Regions from separate parts of the Homo sapiens genome. Here all the other regions are linked to region 4. Evidence: promoter capture Hi-C in 16 types of primary human blood cells and fetal thymus (Javierre and others, 2016). All regions are on one chromosome and are shown on one strand. The core of a region is centred on a gene start or on the middle of the fragment in contact, and the rest is flanking DNA. Distances in the headings are between cores, read along the strand shown.

The links. The method cuts DNA at HindIII sites, captures the fragments that hold promoters and counts their contacts. A CHiCAGO score of 5 or more calls a contact.
Region 1: a contact is called between a fragment that was not itself captured here and the fragment with the promoter of C7orf33 in region 4, in 8 of 17 cell types (non-activated CD4 T cells, naive CD4 T cells, activated CD4 T cells and 5 more). The highest score is 10.3, in non-activated CD4 T cells.
Region 2: a contact is called between a fragment that was not itself captured here and the fragment with the promoter of C7orf33 in region 4, in 4 of 17 cell types (activated CD4 T cells, naive CD8 T cells, non-activated CD4 T cells and 1 more). The highest score is 10.6, in activated CD4 T cells.
Region 3: a fragment that was not itself captured here is called in contact with the fragment with the promoter of C7orf33 in region 4 in 10 of 17 cell types (activated CD4 T cells, non-activated CD4 T cells, naive CD4 T cells and 7 more); the score reaches 14.4 in activated CD4 T cells.
Region 5: a fragment that was not itself captured here is called in contact with the fragment with the promoter of C7orf33 in region 4 in 9 of 17 cell types (activated CD4 T cells, non-activated CD4 T cells, total CD4 T cells and 6 more); the score reaches 13.7 in activated CD4 T cells.
Region 6: a contact is called between a fragment that was not itself captured here and the fragment with the promoter of C7orf33 in region 4, in 11 of 17 cell types (activated CD4 T cells, naive CD4 T cells, total CD4 T cells and 8 more). The highest score is 12.6, in activated CD4 T cells.

Annotation. Positions count from the first base shown.
Region 1 is chr7:148,832,286-148,835,205 of GRCh38, reverse strand. It overlaps EZH2 (enhancer of zeste 2 polycomb repressive complex 2 subunit), which reads left to right. Exons shown (of 20, transcript NM_004456.5): 4 at 2,456-2,572. Among named protein-coding and RNA genes, the nearest start is that of EZH2, 51 kb to the left of the region's middle. The HindIII fragment of the contact is 3,642 bases long and covers 1-2,920 here.
Region 2 is chr7:148,790,099-148,793,041 of GRCh38, reverse strand. CUL1 (cullin 1) reads right to left here. Exons shown (of 22, transcript NM_003592.3): 16 at 2,601-2,732; 17 at 224-316. Among named protein-coding and RNA genes, the nearest start is that of CUL1, 93 kb to the right of the region's middle. The HindIII fragment of the contact is 2,765 bases long and covers 55-2,819 here.
Region 3 is chr7:148,761,322-148,764,139 of GRCh38, reverse strand. All of the region lies in intron 7 of CUL1 (cullin 1), which reads right to left. Among named protein-coding and RNA genes, the nearest start is that of CUL1, 64 kb to the right of the region's middle. The HindIII fragment of the contact is 4,501 bases long and covers 1-2,818 here.
Region 4 is chr7:148,589,184-148,592,084 of GRCh38, reverse strand. It overlaps C7orf33 (chromosome 7 open reading frame 33), which reads right to left and starts at 1,319. Exons shown (of 3, transcript NM_145304.4): 1 at 956-1,319. The coding sequence starts at 1,159. The HindIII fragment of the contact is 1,806 bases long and covers 571-2,376 here.
Region 5 is chr7:148,814,106-148,816,996 of GRCh38, reverse strand. EZH2 (enhancer of zeste 2 polycomb repressive complex 2 subunit) reads left to right here. Exons shown (of 20, transcript NM_004456.5): 12 at 219-313; 13 at 1,451-1,491; 14 at 1,958-2,083; 15 at 2,860-2,891. Among named protein-coding and RNA genes, the nearest start is that of EZH2, 69 kb to the left of the region's middle. The HindIII fragment of the contact is 1,769 bases long and covers 757-2,525 here.
Region 6 is chr7:148,737,171-148,740,121 of GRCh38, reverse strand. The region is part of intron 2 of CUL1 (cullin 1); the gene reads right to left. Among named protein-coding and RNA genes, the nearest start is that of CUL1, 40 kb to the right of the region's middle. The HindIII fragment of the contact is 238 bases long and covers 1,540-1,777 here.

The sequences.
Region 1 (2,920 bases), core at 50-2,549, 240 kb before region 4:
TCAAGCGATCTGCCCGTCTTGGCCTGCCAAAGTGCTGAGATTATACGCTTGAGCCACTGTGCCCAGCCATGTCTCTGTTTTATATAGTAAATACTGCATGGCTGTAATTGTTATTTTACCCCATGAGCATTGCAAGGGCAAGAACTACAGTGCAGTAATTAATTAAGCTCACGGGTGTTGCAGTCAGACTTTAAATCCAGGTTTTAATCCTGGTTTTGTAATTTGCTACCTTTCTGACTAGACAAATTGTATAACTTCTCTGAACCTCAGTGTCCTCATTTGTGAAGTTTTGATGCTAAAACTACACCATAAGGTTGTAATGAGGAATAATTAAGATAATATATACAAGCACTTAGCACAGTGCCTGCAACATAGTACGTGCTCAATAAATGTTAACTGCTGTTTTTATTGGATTATTGGATGGATGGATGAAGGATTGTATCAGAGGCCAAATAGCAGGAAGGGGAAAGATTGTGGGCTCTGGAGTGTTAGTAAACTGTTCACACCTTCTTGTTTACTCGAGTTAAGAGCCTTATTAGTATTATTACCTTTATCTTTGCCTTTTTGGAAAGCAAATTAATAGATGAATCACTGTCACAGTTCTTCCTAACTACTCCATCCTTAAACCTTTACTTCCACTAAGGAAGGAATTATTTTTGTGCTGCAGTGACTGTGATGATTGAGAGATTATCCCACTGGCCTGATGCAACCCAATGCTGAGGGTCAGGTGTGGCCCATATGCCAGATTTCTACTCTGAATTTCACCACAACTAGTTCTGCTATTTTTAAGACATTTTAAATAAAAAATTTAAACATTTAATATGTGTGTGTGTGTGTGTGTGTGTGTGTGTGTATATATATATATATAATGATTTTTCAGTTTCATTTTACTACACTTCTTTTTTGCTCTATTTTCATTGATTGTGGATTATGAATGTATGTCTAGGATATTTTTGAGAAGGCTCTGGAGGACTTACACCTGGGCAGTAGTACTCTTTAAGGAATCTCGGATTCGTAGACAGGGTGGAAAGTGCTGTGGTTATTTAGGCACAGAGTTATACCATATTTCAGAGAATCAAAGATGCAAAATTTTTCACATTTTAACATTGGAAACAACATGCATCTTAGAATCACTGTGATAAGAATGGATTATACCTTTGTTTAGTTGGCAGCATTTTTTCTTAGTGATACAGAAGATAATGATGTACCTTGAAATCGCTGTCATCATAGATTGTATGAAATATGGTGTTTCAAGGGACTATGTGCACTGACACATTTTAGCAATATGGTATCATGGCAATATAAGGAGCGGGAAGAGCAGGGGCTCCAGAGTCAGGCTTTTGGAGTTTACATTCTAGCCCGAGAACCATGCGCAACTTTGGGCAAGCTACTTATCCTTTCTTTTCTATAGTTTTCTCACCTGTAAAATGGGGGCTAAGAGTAGTACCCATCTTACAGTGTTGTAATGAGGATTAAATAGAAGACATGTAATGTGTTTAAAATAGCCTAGCACATAGAAAGTACTTAGTAATCAGCTAATATTATTAATTCAGAGATTACAGTTTTGCAGAATAGACTTAAATTTACTTTGTTGTGATTGAAACACAAACCCATTACCCTTAATATTTATGTATCATCTGATAATATCAGCAATTGACACTTAGATTTTAAAAAAGGAAGATAAGGAAGATTAACTGAACAAGTTTTCTTATTCTTTTTATTTTATTTTATTTTATTTTTTTTTTTTTTGAGACGGAGTTTCGCTCTGTCGCCCAGGCTGGAGTGCAGTGGCGCGATCTCGACTCACTGCAAGCTCCGCCTCCCGGGTTCACGCCATTCTCCTGCCTCAGCCTCCCGTGTAGCTGGGACTACAGGCGCGCGCCACCATGCCTGGCTAATTTTTGTATTTTTAGTAGAGACGGGGTTTCACCGTGTTAGCCAGGATGGTCTCGATCTCCTGACCTCGTGATCCGCCCGTCTCGGCCTCCCAAAGTGCTGGGATTACAGGCGTGAGCCACCGCGCCCGGCCCAAGTTTTCTTATTCTTATTAAGTAAGATTTAAGTGGCTTATTTGGTATACATATTACTATTCTGTGTGGTTGGAATGTAAGAGAAATGAAGGATGAGCTAGGAAATAAATGTATAGGAAAAGCATGGAGGAGTTAATCAGATCGCTGAATCTCATATAAGTACAGTTTTTGATTCTTACTGATATTGGTAAGTATGGGAAGGGTTGGAGGTTTTGAAAATTTGGAAAATTTGAAGCATTTTTGCACCCTAAGTAAAAGAAAAGAGAGAATCCTATTTGGTTTATATGACCACTTTACTGTCCTAGGTAAGGACTTTTTTTTCAAAATTAAATATTTGGGTAGGCAGCATCTCTTTACAATATGATGGCTACAGCTTAAGGTTGTCCTTTTATTCTTAAGAGTCAATTTTATTTTTTCTGTTTTAGTGTTCGGTGACCAGTGACTTGGATTTTCCAACACAAGTCATCCCATTAAAGACTCTGAATGCAGTTGCTTCAGTACCCATAATGTATTCTTGGTCTCCCCTACAGCAGAATTTTATGGTATGTAAATAAGATATCTTCTGCTTATTTGATAATAACTTATTTGAAGTAAAAAAGCATAGATAATTTTATTGTCAAGGTGAATCAAGACAGTATAAATTCTAAAAAGCTATCAAAATAACACTTGAAGTAATTTTTAAAAATTGATTAAGGTAGTTTTTTTAAGGCCTGTGCAGTATTACTCTTTTCCTATACTCTCCAAAGGAAAAGTGTTAAGCAGTAACCATACCTAGGATTAAAAATATTTAAAAGATGGGCTGGGCATTGTGGCTCATGCCTGTAATCCCAGCACTTTGGGAGGCTGAGGCAGATGGATTACTTGAGTCTGGGAATTGGAGATCCACCTGG
Region 2 (2,943 bases), core at 188-2,687, 200 kb before region 4:
ACTACAGGCATGTGCCACCATGCCTGGCTCAACAATGAGTTTTAACATGAAGCTTTTTGTAGTGCGTATTAAAATCCTGGAATAAGGCCATATTCATATTCATGAGGCAAACATCTATTTCAAATTAAAGATGCCCATATCCTCTTCCTTATCTTTCCTAACAATATCCACGAGAACAAGGAAACGGCAAGCTGATAGAACAACGAGCCTGAGATGAGAATACCATTTTAATTTGAGTGCTGTCGGTCAGCTGCTGCACAGTGTAGGCATCTTCCGTGTTGTACTGAAGCAGGATAGCCATCTGGAATGTCGACGCCTTTGCGGCCCCCCATATAAAAGAAAAAGAAGGAAAATTTACATGCATGGAAACACCTCCCAAAATATACAGCCCAAGTTTGAAGAACTTATTTATGAAACAAATTCTTTAAACAAGTACAAAAAAAGCACAGATCTATTTAAAAGGGAATATAAAACGTGGCAATGCCACTACAATGCAACATTTTCCCAAAGTCATTCATTTTCCATGTTTACAAACATTAAAATAATTTGAGGGTTTTTTTTAAAAAACGTATTGTCTATGTGGATACATACTATAGATACGTCCCCACGCATTTATAGAGACAATCACATATACACACACCTGGTATATATGGACATGTTAAGCATCAATCTCCAAATCTGTTTTTGGCACATGAGCTAAGGAATATTATCTTTTGGCACATTATTGATGTAAAACAACACAAATATCAAATTATATTTGGTTTTCTAATCCTAAGTACTTTACTATGAAAGTATGAAAAAAGTAAGTAAAGTATGAAATGGCAAGTGTACTAAATTTCTATTTTTTTTTTTTTTTGAGACAAAGTCTTGCTCTGTCACCCAGGCTGGAGTGCAGTGGCACAATCTCGACTCACTGCAACCTCCGCCTCCCAGGTTCAAGGGATTCTCCTGCCTTGGCCTCCAGAGTAGCTGGGGCTATAGGCGTGCACCACCACACCCAGCTAATTTTTGTATTTTAGTAGAGATGGGGTTTCGCCATGCTGGCCAGGCTGGTCTCGAACTCCTGACCTTGTGATCTGCCTGCCTTGGCCTCCCAAAGTGCTAGGATTACAGGCTGAGCCACTGCACCCGGCCCTAAAGTATCTTCTAAAAGACAGGTAGCACGTGTTGGTTCCTGATTGCTGAGTGTGTGCAAGCGAATGAACACCCCGAGGACGCCTTCCTTCTCTTCTCCCTGTTTTCTTGCATAATCGACAGCAACAAGTAATGACCCATGACTGTCAGTCACTGCTTGCCTCTCGGCAAGACCTTGGTCAATGGAAAGAGAAACAAAAAACGCCACATGCCTGTTTCAGGGCGGCCCACAGACAACACTGCTTCCAGGGCCTTGAACAGAGATACAAGGGAACGAGCGTGTTGCTAATGTTTTCTATTGGGCCCGCTCCGGGCTGCCTTAACACGGCAGACACACCCTAGGCAAAGCCTCCACCGTCAAAAACTGGACACTGAAATTCCAGGTACTGTAGTGGAACACATGGATTCTTCTATGTATATTTGGGGATAAATGAAACAAAATTTCAATTGTATAGTAAGAAACATTCAAGTTGATAAAGACCTCTGGAGCCAGCATAATACTATGCATTTTAACAATTTTAAGTCACAGTAGATTTACGAAAAGTTTAAATTAATGAGCAGCTTGAGTCTGCAGAACAACCCATTCTGGAGTTTCTTAATACTTAAACACAGATTTGCAATTCTTCTTAGAAACTCACTGGTGAAAACTTCTCAGAGACTAAAATATGCCATTACTTGTGAAGACCACTCAGTACAAAAGTGGAAGTAGAAAGAGCTTGGACTTTTTTTTCTTTTTACTTTAAAAAATATCTAGAGATGGGGTCTTGCTATGTTGTCCAGGCTTGTCTCAAACTCCTAGCCTCAAGTGATTCTCTGGTCTCAGCCTCCCAAAGCGTGAGGATTACAAGCGTGAGCCACCACACCAGCCCAAGCCTAGACTTTAAGAGAAAAGACTTTAACTGAAATTTTGGCTCAGCTACATATAAGCTAGGATTCAGAGAAATTCACTTAAATTAACCCAAGCCTCAGTTTTCTCCTCTAAGAAATGGAAATATTCTTAGTTACATAGGTATAAATTAGGTTGTACTCAATATTGTTGTCAGCACTGAGTGTTATTAATGTGAAAGTGCTCTGTGTAAGGTGGAGAGCTGATATAATGAAATGCATGCAACTCCAGCTTTTGAAGTCACTACCTGAACAGCTGATGTGTGTCAGGCAGGAGCGGTGCCAAACACTTACTAAATACATTATTTAATTTTCACATCAATTCCCAACTATAAAGTACTAACACTCCCATTAATGGAGGAGAAAACTGAGGCTCACAATCATTAAATAACTTGCTCCCCAGCCAGAAAGAATTGGAATTTGGTTCATCTGATTCTTACAACTCCATGCTTTAAACCTGCCACTATTTCACCAGAAGCTGAATTCTAGATTCTGCTGCTGAGTCAGCTGATAATGATTTCCATAATTTGCCTTATGTTCATTTAGAATAGAAAAATTTTAAGATAAAAATGTGATCTTACCTGCAAAGTATATCTGTTTTTGAAGCAGTTAGTTACCAATTCTCCTTTAGACAACTGATATAACCACGTCAATTTTCGGCCACTGTGGCGGCTGGCGTAGAAAGCTGTGAATCGCTGATAACTACGTTCCAACTAGATAAAAGGACAGCATTATATGGAATACAGATCTCACCACATCCTACAGGCAGCGTTTCTAAGTAAAGCCCACTGTTCCAAGCTTACAGTACAAAGTCAGTGCTTACATAAAAGTAAAATACAAACGCCAGGTGTCTGCCTCTCTTGTAAAGCACTTTAAGCACTGGAAGGTACAATCTTAAAAAAGGTTTGTACTTCAAGACCAGCA
Region 3 (2,818 bases), core at 141-2,640, 170 kb before region 4:
GCAAATTAATGAAGTATGGTATATTTTTAAAGTTTTTAAAAAATGACATTAGAAACCTACAGTAGTCATACAGAGTTTCTGTAGCTCAGATCAGTCTCAATCGCATGAGACAGTCAAATCTTTTAGAAACACTAACATGGTTCACTCTTCAAAGCCATCCTTGGAAAGACAAGCCAAATATTCTTAGATGTTTCCTGTAAAACACTCCTAATAGAGAAAAGTGAACACAGACCCAGGGAATTTGAACTGCTCTCAACTGGCTAGAATTTGCAGAGTATTTCTTGAAGGGTCATGTTTTATCTCATAGTTGTTCTATTTCCTGATAGAATGTTTGTTGTAATGTAAACACAATTGCTCCCTAAGTTATTGAGTAAGATTTGCCACCCTTTATCCTGTGGTTTTGCATCCTCCCAGGCATACACTGGAGGTTTTGTGGGATGTATATTTGTAATACCAAATACATTAGCTTTGCTCTTTGCCACACACCAATCTAAGCACCTTTTAACAAATAAATACCTCATGTTAAAATTTGTAAATACTAAAGCTCACTTAATCCTCATTATTACCTATTATTATTATTCACATTTTACAGATAAGGAATTTGAGGAACAGAAGCATTAAGGTCATCCCCCTAATAAATGGTGGGGTGGGGATTTAAAAATAGACTCATAGCTCAGTTTGAGATGCAAGGCTATAGGATGAGAGCAGAATTACATGGTCAAATTCCAGTTTTATGCTTATAGACTCTCTGCATTATCATCTTTCAGAATATGATGGAAGTCGTGTTTGGTGTGATCCAAGTGGATCCGGGCCAAACCTTTAACTCTTCTAGAAATGAATCCCCTCTATGGGAACCAGGATGTAGGAAGCACACTGCTTCCTTGAAGGCGGGCCTCATGCTGGATTGAAAACATCGAGGCCATTGGAAATTCTTGCTCCTCAACCGTCTTTGGTGTCAGGCCTGGTTTTATTTTTATTTTTATTTTTTTTTTTGAGACAGAGTCTCACTCTGTTGCCCAGGCTGGAGTGCAATGGCGCGATCTCGGCTCACTGCAACCTCCGCCTCCCAGGTTCAAGTGATTCTCCTGCCTCAGCTTCCCAAGTAGCTGGGATAACAGGCGTCCGCCACCACACTTGGCTAATTTTTGTATTTTTATTAGAGAGAGGGTTTCACCATGCTGGCCAGGCTGGTCTCGAACTCCCGACCTCAGGCAATCTGCCCACCTCGGCCTCCCAAAGTGCTAGGATCACAGGCGTGAGCCACCGCGCCCGGCCTAGGCCTGGTTTTAAAAACAGATTTACCTGTTCTGGGAGTGCTTCAGTAGCTCTGCCCTAGAACACTGGTTTCCTTGCCCTAGAGCACTACTACTTCATCAGTGTGGACAAAGGAGATGACCACAATCCTCTAATAAACCCATAAAAAGAACAGGCTCGCGCCACTGTCGTGGATGTGCATCTGGATAAGAGGTCTTTGGGATATATAGTTTTAAAAGAATCACCATATACAGCAGAGTTTCATAAGAGAAGTGTTTAGGAATACAACACTGTCATATTAAACAATGAAATAACAGGCAATGTTAACGTTTAAAACAGACTGTTTCAAAAGTTCATTTGTTAGGCAGTTGTTTGAAACTCTGGGTGAGCTGGTTAGGTTCCAGATTGGCATAGGAAAGTCAATTTAGCCCACCATTATACACAAGGAACCATTAATATTCCAAGTATAATACCCCGAATAGTTCCATTTTTGTTAGATTTTGAGATAGCAGAGATTTGTCAAGGACTTTCAACTTCAAACTTCTAAGCCCATTTATAACCACTATCTCCTATAGGAAAATGCATTCAGGTCACCACAAACAAACCGGATAGGACTTTCTCTATGAGGTTAGAGCAGAGCTGTTGCTTTTAATTGACTTTCTATCTCAGCATACGGAAAAGAGATTCCGCAGTCCATTCATACTCCAAGTGAACAGGGAATACAGGGCAAGCAGGTGTCAGGCTTGGAAAGATCCAGACTCCTGGAGATCTCCTAGTACAAGGATCCTCAATCGCTGGCTGTGGGCCAGTATGGGTCTGTGGCCTGTTAGGAACTGGGCCGCACAACAGGAGGTGACCAGCATATGAGTGAGCATTACTACCTGAGCTCCGCCTCCTGTCAGATCAGGGACGGCATTAGATTCTCATAGGAGCTCGAACCCTACTGTGAACTACACACGTGAGGGATCTATGTTGCACGCTCCTTTGATCTGAGGTGGAACAGTTTCGTCCCAAAACCATCCCCCTTCTTCCCCCAGCCACCGTCTGTGATGCCAAAAGGGTTGGGGACCATTGTCCTAGTACAGCTAGGTCAAGGGTCAGCAAACTGTAGCCTGTAGGCCAAATTCTGCCTGCCTGCCTTTTTCTGTAAATAAAGTTTTATTGGAACCCGGCCACACTCAGTTGTGTACATATCCCACTGGCTGCTTTGTGCTGCAATGGCAGAGTTGAACAGCTGCAAAAGAGATCACATAGCTCACAAAGCCTAAAGTATTTCCTTTCTAGCCCTTTACAAGATAAGTTTGCTGACTCCAGACCTAGGTCATTCCTTAGAGTCTAAATCCAGGATATCCATATTTCTTTTTCTTTTTCTTTTGAGACAGAGTCTCACTCTGTCACCCAGGCTGGAGGGCAGTGGCACAATCTCGGCTCACTGCAACCTCCGCCTCCCAGGTTCAAGCGATTCTCCTGCTTCAGCCTCCTGAATAGCTGGGATTACAGGCACGTGCCACCATGCCCAGATAAATTTTTTTGTATTTTTAGTAGAAACGGGGTTTCACCATGT
Region 4 (2,901 bases), core at 70-2,569:
GGAAGAAGCCAGGAACTGCAACATGGGAGAAAACAAATTAGGGCTGGAGAACTAGGTGGGGACACCTGTGGTTCCCATCAAACTGAACACCCAAAGCTGGAGATAAATACAAAGTGGGAGCTCATACTTTAACCAAAAATGCCTGCCTAGTGGGAGGCAGGGGCTTGGGGATCAGGAGGTGTCAAAGATCAAAGACAGGCAAAGAGTTAAGGATCCAGGTCTTGCTGGGCATGGGTGGCACTTCGGGATGTTGAAGTGGGAGGATCGTTTGAGGACAGGAGTTCAAGACCAGCCTGGGCAACATGGCAAGACCCCATTTCTACAAAAAATAAAAAAATTAGCTAAGCCTGATGGCACATGGCTGTAGTCCTAGCCACCCGGGAGGCTCCTCTGGGAGGATCACTTGAAGCCAGGAGGTTGATGCTGCAGTGAGCTATGATTGTGACACTGCACTCCAGCCTGGGTGACAGAGCAAGATACTATCTCTAAAACAACAACAACAACTCCTGGTCTTTAAAGCGAGAGAAGAGACAAGAATCTAGGCAAGGAGAAGGGAACAGGTGCAAAGCTTGTGCCAAAGGGTGACCAAGATAGAGGCTTCCTGTGGACCCATCTCCAGGGCAAAACATAGTCTGAGAACAAGCGCATTCCTTCTACCACACTGTGTGAAAATATACAATTTTTACGCTGGAATTTTTCAAATCAACATGACTCAGGCTAAACACAAGAATACTCAGTGGAGTGTTTTGTGAGGATTCTTTTCCCTAAGAAGATTCCAGGCCTTCTTTGGGGCAGTGAATTAATCTCTGTCTCTCTCTTTACTTCAATGTCGTTAAGCCCAGTTCCATAACACATAGTAGAGAGTCAAAAACATTCATGGATTGAGTGAATGAATTCTCAAGAGATACTGACTGACTCAAAGAGCAGTTGATTCATCTTAGAATCATTAACTTACCTTATGTCTTCCCGTGGCATATGACAAGTTAAATTGACCTGGACCGCCCCTAACGTGGACCCAAACAGCGACTGCCCTCCCACTCAGGCGAAGGTCAATCCGGCGCCTTGCCCCACTGGGCAGGAGGGCTTCACATTCACATTGGGGGCCTGGAAGTCTCCAGGGACACTCTTCAAGGCTGAGGCTTTGAACTTCCACTTGCATTTTGGCAAAGGTAATTACCTTTCCTGGATGCTGTCAAGGAGAGCGGCGCTTCACCACCAATATCTAAGATCAAGTCGCACGGATCCCCAGGGTCAGTAGGAGGATTCAGACACAGGCTGGGCGCCTCGCTCCTGACCACTGGATTGGCATCACCATAAGTAAGGTCACAGCTGAGTAGAAAATGCCTGAGGCAAAGTGGGGGTGAAAGAGGGGCCACCGAGCAGTGTGATAGGCAGCCCCTTCCGCCAGCTCATTATCCCCACCTGCTCCTGTCGTCTCCTATTAGAATCCTAATGCGAGTTTACGGAAAGTCAGCTGGAGCTTGTCCTCCATGTAATTCAGATCACGTTGCCTGCAGCTCTTAGGTACTCAAATAAACAGAAGGACTAATATTACTACTGAAAAAGTAATTAAGGGCATTCATTGTAAAGTAATAATGATTACCTCACCCTCACCATATGGCCAGAACTGATTAACACCTAGAAGAAATGATCTAAAACCTCTACAATCAGAATTAATGTCTCAGGTCATAATGAGAAACATTTTGTAGCGGGGTTTGGCAGGGAAGGATGAAAAAGTGGTTGGGAGTTTACTAAATCAAGAGGCACAAACAAAATATTGAGGATAACATCCTTTTTCAGGATTTTTCATCTCATTCAGATTAGACAAGTTGCATTTTTAGTGTAGAACCCATATCACAAATGCAAAAAATATTACAAGATTTACACATTGGAATTGTCACTTAATTGGATGAGTTTTTCCTCCATTGTTTCTTTTATAATGATGAGGAATTGATGGAAGAATCTCCATCGAGGCTGGCAGTTTCTTAAATCACCAGGGAAGGGCTTAGCCCACTGATTGAAAATCTTCTTATCGTAAATTACTGGTTAAAATGCTATTTGTTGTCAGGAGTATCATGGAGTGTGATTTAATCTCTTAAGATTAGTTAAAGTGGTAGAAATGTTAGCATTTCTGGGTAATGCCAAACAGGTTAGCATTACAAAAGATGCCTAGAAAGATACGGACCCATTTGGAAGACAAGGTTGCTGTAAAAGCCAGTTTGCAGGTGCACCGTGGGGGGTGACAGGATGCCCTGGGCTGTTCTTGATTAGTGCGTGTGCCCTAGGGTCATGTGGTGAAGCATAAGGAAGCAGAATTTGGGATATTTTTCCCACCAGAATCCCTAAGATTACTCTGTGTACTGCTGGGGAAAAGCTTAATGGGCTCAACACCACCCTTGAGGGAAGGCAATAATGGAATCTCTTTTTTCTGCAAATACTTCCTTGGGTGGTGCATCATGATTCCCTGAGGCAGGATTTCCTGCAGCAGAGCTGGAGGGGCTGGAGGGGCTGGTGGGGCTGGTGGGGCTGGTGGGGCTGGAGGGGCCAGAGGGGCTGGTGGGGCTGGTGAGTCTAGAGGTGCTGGAGTTCCAAGAACTTGGCCTGGAATCTTGAACCTGCAGCCATACATTCGGACTCTAGCTTTGCCTTTTTACTTATCTGTCTTTGACCACTAAAGAAATAGACAGACCTCATAATATTATTTCCTCGACTGCCTCTTAAAAGTCAAAACCTTAAGTTAAGGACACCTCACATTTTGGTCAAGACCAGTGGACCTAGGTAAGAGTAAATCAGAGAATTCCCAAGGTGGAAGAAGTTATTCCTAGACAACGAATGAATCCCCTGGATTTGGGTTGCGGAGTGAGGTGACCAGCTGGTCACCCTGGGGGTGGACTGAGCCAA
Region 5 (2,891 bases), core at 392-2,891, 220 kb before region 4:
AAAGCTAGTAAGAATTGAAATTTAGCATCACAGTTCTTGACCAGAATATAATTACAGCTACCCCTAATGTGAGGGTAGGGACAGCGATGTGTGTTATATCCCCAGCATCTAGCAGTGTCACAGAAGAGACAAAGACATTTTTCTGGTATGCATGAGTATAAGAATGGTTTGCCTAAATAAGACTGTCCTCATGGCTCTGTGACTGTGCCTCTTGTCAGGTGTATGAGTTTAGAGTCAAAGAATCTAGCATCATAGCTCCAGCTCCCGCTGAGGATGTGGATACTCCTCCAAGGAAAAAGAAGAGGAAACACCGGTGAGTCTGTCATGAAGCTCCTTAGAGAAGTCAACATAGATAGACACTGCAGGCAAGGCCCTTCCTAAGGGCTGTTGTTGGTTTCTACTTAGTCTATTTTTAAAAAACCTTAAACTGCCATCAAAAACAGAACTATGGAATCTTATTTCCACTGGGAATTGCTAGTATTTTTCTATAAGAATACAGCAGCCTTCAGTATATTTGGTATGTTAAGAGTCATAAAAATTACGGTTACCAGACTGCATTTGGGTTAAGAAAAACATATTTAGTAGCTTTTGCAGTAAAGGTTACGTAAACAATTACTTTAACATCATGAAATGTTCTGTGTTTCTGATGTGAGCTCTGGGCCAGTTTTTAGAAGTATCTTTTATTCCAGGAGCTTGAATTTCTAAGTTGTGTGGCATTGCATTCCGATACTCCTAATGGGTACCCTACTTTAAGCTTGTGTGAATGTTATTTTCACCTTAGCGAATGTTTTCAGGCTGATTTGATTTGTAAATGTAGAACCAGAAAAATTGATGAGTGGACTATCTGCTCTAATCTCCCCATACCTCTACCTCACATTTTTAAAAATGAGAAACCTAATTGGGTAGGTAAGGGTGCAGTTAGATTATGCTTCTTAAATTGTGTACAGGCTCATGTTACATTTTCTTACTTTAACAAAAATAAGTGTAGGGCCAACCCAATTTAGAATTTTTTTAAAGTCAAGTTTTTATTTTTATTTTTTAGGCTTTAGGAGATGCTTCTGAAATTTTGGTTGAATTATTTCTGACCACGTAGTTCACTTGCTTGGTTTATGATGCCTGAAATAAGAGGAAGTGATCAGTGTCATCCACATCAGAATAAATCAACAGGCAGACACACCTGCTGCTTTGTGCAGCATTGGGAGCTCAGGAGTTCTGACCAGGAGTCATGGATGAACACAGGAAATGACGTCTTGCCACACCTGGGGCAGCCTGAGCCATCAAGCTGTTTGAGTTGCTTCAAACTGATGGCAAATATAAACTGGGCAGGGCATGACTCTTGGCTTTAACGCATTCCTGTATTCATGGCACAGATAGATCCAGTTAAGCAGCTCTCTGTTGGATTTGTAGCTTCCCGCAGAAATTTGGTTTAATTTTCTTTGTGTTTTTGCAGGTTGTGGGCTGCACACTGCAGAAAGATACAGCTGAAAAAGGGTTAGCATCTTTCCATTCCTCTCATTATTAGCTTAACAATATCTGCTTTGTTTTCATTTGTTTTAGAATAGTAACTGGATTAGAGCTTGGGTTATTCTAATATAATTGCCTTCTGTATGTTAAACCAATTTGAATGGAGGACGTCTACTGATGAATCCCCAGTCAATTCTCTTCTGTAAAGTGGAGGCTGACTGGAAGGTGTGAGTCCGAGTCAGTTGAAGGAGAAGTGCTTTGGGATGGGACTGAGATGTAGCCGTGCTTTAGATGGAACTCATAAGCACTTGGGGGTGGGAGAGTATTTTTTGCCATCGTTGTGGAAACCGGAATATGTGTAATGTTATGCATTCAGTAAAGGCAGGCCAGCTACACTCCACAGGTAGTAGGGAAGAATGTACTCGTGTTAATTGTGTATGATCGTTTCCATCTCCCTGGATTCATTGGCCTGCATGATGTTATCTTTACTCAGACGGCTCCTCTAACCATGTTTACAACTATCAACCCTGTGATCATCCACGGCAGCCTTGTGACAGTTCGTGCCCTTGTGTGATAGCACAAAATTTTTGTGAAAAGTTTTGTCAATGTAGTTCAGAGTGTAAGTATTTGTTGCTTTGATGCAATTGCATGAGAACTAAATAGGTCTTTGGTTAGCAATTTAAAAAATCAAAAATAAGAACATGGGAGCACTCCCTTGTTTACTTGACGAAACTCATCAATTTGACAAGTATTTATTGAGCCCCATACCTGGCCCTGTGCCAGTGGCCAGTCAGTCGCCTGGGTGTTGTGTGTCTGTGTGTGTGAGGCAGGCAAAGTTGTATTAAAGGAACCTGAATTTTATTTTTTTCTTCTTTGATCATTTAAATTAAGTTGTATTAAAGTTGGCACAGATTGTAAGAGGAATCTAGAAGGAGCTACCCAAATAATTTTTGGGCACCAGAAATCGTCAGAGTTAGGAGGGTTTTAGTCTTCAGATTAAAGGAATGTAGCATAAACATAGTAGATTTTTATAATTGTTTAATGAGACTGCACATGAAGCTTGGGTATTAAGGGAGTGTTTAGAACTAGGGGCTATTGGAATGGTCAAGGACCATGGATATTGTTCCATCCAGACCCTTTATTCACACCGACTTTAAATATATACACTATTTAACAAATGAAAAATGGAAAAACAACTCAGTGGTGGTCTTTTTCAGTGCAAACAGCTATAACTTCGCTGTTAATACTTCCATTTCCTTGTCTATATAGTAGGGTAATAAGGTGGTTGTGAGGGTTGAGAGTCAGTGAGATGCCCAGTACAGCCCTTGCCACGTATCTTTCTGCAAGTTTTTGCATACGGTGATGAGTGAAGAACCTCCAAACCTCTCTCTGAAGGTCAAAACCGCTTTCCGGGATGCCGCTGCAAA
Region 6 (2,951 bases), core at 409-2,908, 150 kb before region 4:
AAGGTTGCGCCATTGCACTCCGGCCTGGGCAAAAACAGCAAAACTGTCTCAAAAAAAAAAAAAGCCATTAAAAAAATTCAATACCATTCCAATCAATCAACTTTTGGGGTAGACATTGACAAGAAGTTGACAGTCCATTGAGGAAAAGTTTTTTTCAACAAATGACACTGGAATAATTGGATATCCACACAGGGGAAATTTAACCTTAAGCCTTACTGTACACCATATACAAAAGTTAACTCCAGGTGGATCACAGGTCTAAAAGTAAATGCCCAAACCATAAAGTCTTATGAGGAAAACACAAAATATATTTGAGATCTAGGCAAAGGTTTCTTATGTCACAGAGGCAATAACTGCAAAAATAAAATAAAACCAATAAATTAGGTTTCCCCAAAGTAAACATTTGCTCACCCAAAGACACCATTAAGAAAATGATTAGCAAGCCTCAGACTTGAAGAAAATATTAGCAAAATATATCTGACAAAACACTGGTATCCTTGACATATAAAGAACTAAAACTAACAAAAAGCAAAATATCCCCAAAATGGAAAAAACAGGAGGCGAAAGACTTGGACACTTTACAAAAGATGACATACGAATGGTCAACGAGCATATAAAAAGGTGCTCAACGGACACGAAGTTTACATGGCAGCCCGAGAGGTGCCCCCGGTTTAGGGCACCTTCGCCTAAAGAACAGGATCAACTGTGCTTTGAATCCAGGCTGAGTCAGCAGAGGCAGGAGTGAAAGCAGATCTTATATAGCTCTGATGACACACAGTCTTAGCTTCACAGTATTTTTATCTCAGCTTTAAATCAACTGAACTATATGGAGAAATGTTATCAGAAATGGAATGAGCAGGCTCTTCATGTGATCAGAAGCTGCCTGAGGGAGATCTGTCCAGGCCACCAGCCCCTCCTCACACCTCACTGGTATGAGACCTGAGGAAAAAGCGCTATTGGGATAATTCAAGTGTATTATCTGGAAGGGGAGAATTCCCCATGTTCAAGGAAGGACTGTGAAACGGATGTATTCCTGAATTATGAGGTGTGCCATTTTCCTGAAGAATGAGCCCTGAAGGGCGCCTGTGTGAAAGGACAGGGCCGGAGCCTCCCCGCTGCTCTCTATGCCTGGGCTCCTGCTGCTCCCTGAACCCACCGCCCCCCACAATGCCACACTCACCACCTGTTGCCTCAACATGCACACAAATTAAGTGTTCATAAATCATTTACTTTAGAAGAGTAGAAAAACGAACTATGACTAATCTTTAGGAGAAAAATGGTCACATCTAAAGTTATTCTTAAAGGGAAAAAAAATTAAAACAGTATGAGGACAAGTTAAATATAGGAATTAAGATGAAATAAGAAAAAGCAAAAACATCAGAGATAAAAAATTAAAAGTCTACAAGGCAATAAAATAGAAGTTTCATTCAGCAGACAATAGATTAGGTATTTTATACTAAGGCAGCCATAGACTCTAACAAACCCATACATTTGACTTTTAAAACTCTGAGGTTCTTTGCTGAAGGTCCTCTGAAAGCTTCTTTGGCCAGAAAGCAGGTGAGAACGTAAGCAGGTATCTGGGGCCTCCTCCGCAGGCAGGTGGGGAAATGGTGTAAGGTGGTACAGGGGTTTATGTCCAAGAGCCAAGCCTGGTTCAGCCTCCAAAATAGGTCCTACAACTCTTCTGTCATCCTAGAAACGTTGTCTGCCAAGGCATGCTTCTGTACTGATGGGGAGGGGCAAGTCACTGTGAAAGGGTCCTATCAGATGCAAAGCTTCACATCTCACCTTTCAGCAAGCAGACACCTTCTGGGCACCTGTCCAGTGCCAGGTACCATGTGTGTGACTTAGGCCTCACCAACAGACTGCCTTCCTGGAGTTCAGCATCTACTACTAACGTAATATAAAGTGAGCAGCAGGATGACGGAGCCAGTATTCTCAAATGTCTCTGTTACCCACAGCACCATGCCTTATTTCTGAAGTGAACACACCTGGGGAATCAATTCTTGACTTTTAGTTATTGCCAAACTCCAACCATTCTCATTAGCTAAAAGAAAAGCCAATTCAATCAAAGAAGCAAAACTAAACAGAACAGAATCACTTCCTACTACCACTTGTTTCCCAAATGCGACTTAAGAAGTGGAAATTTAAACAAGTAACTTCTATTAAAATCACATGGAAAGACTCTGCACTAAAAGTTTTATTAAAAATACAGTACTTCCTAGGCTGGGTGTGGTGGCTCACCCCTGTAATCCCAGCACTTTGGGAGGCCGAGGTGAACAGATTGCTTGAGGTCAGGAGCTCAAGACCAGCCTGGCTAACATGAAACCCCGTATCTACTAAAAATACAAAAATTAGCTGGGCATGGTGGCACGCACCTGTAATCCCAGCCACTCGGGAGGCTGAGGTATGAGAATTGCTTGAACCCAGGAGGCGGAGGTTGCAATGAGCCAAGATTGCACCACTGCACTCCAGCCTGGGCAACAGAGTGAGGCGCCCTCTGAAAATAAATAAATAAATAAATAAATAAATAAATAAATAAATATAAAAATATATATATATACACACACACACATATATCGTACTTCCTATCTTCAAACATTAACAAGTTAACCTGTACCAAATGGCAGAACAGCAGGCTCACATACTATCCTGTATAATCCGTCTGTAGTTATAAAAGAATAAAGTCCTGTCCAGTCTGTGGGTACGTGCATTTCTGAAAAGAAATATCCCATACAAAGCAAATAAATTCACATCTAATAGCATACTTCAAAAGTAAAAACTAATTGCAATTGATTATAATGAACTAAAAAATGTGTTACATAATGTTCAAAGTACTCTGAGTATAATTACCGTGAATCAAACTTTGAAAAATAGCTGAAGAACATGCCATATTTATACTAACCGCCTACCCCACCAAAAAAAAAAAAAATCACTTGTGACAAGTACAC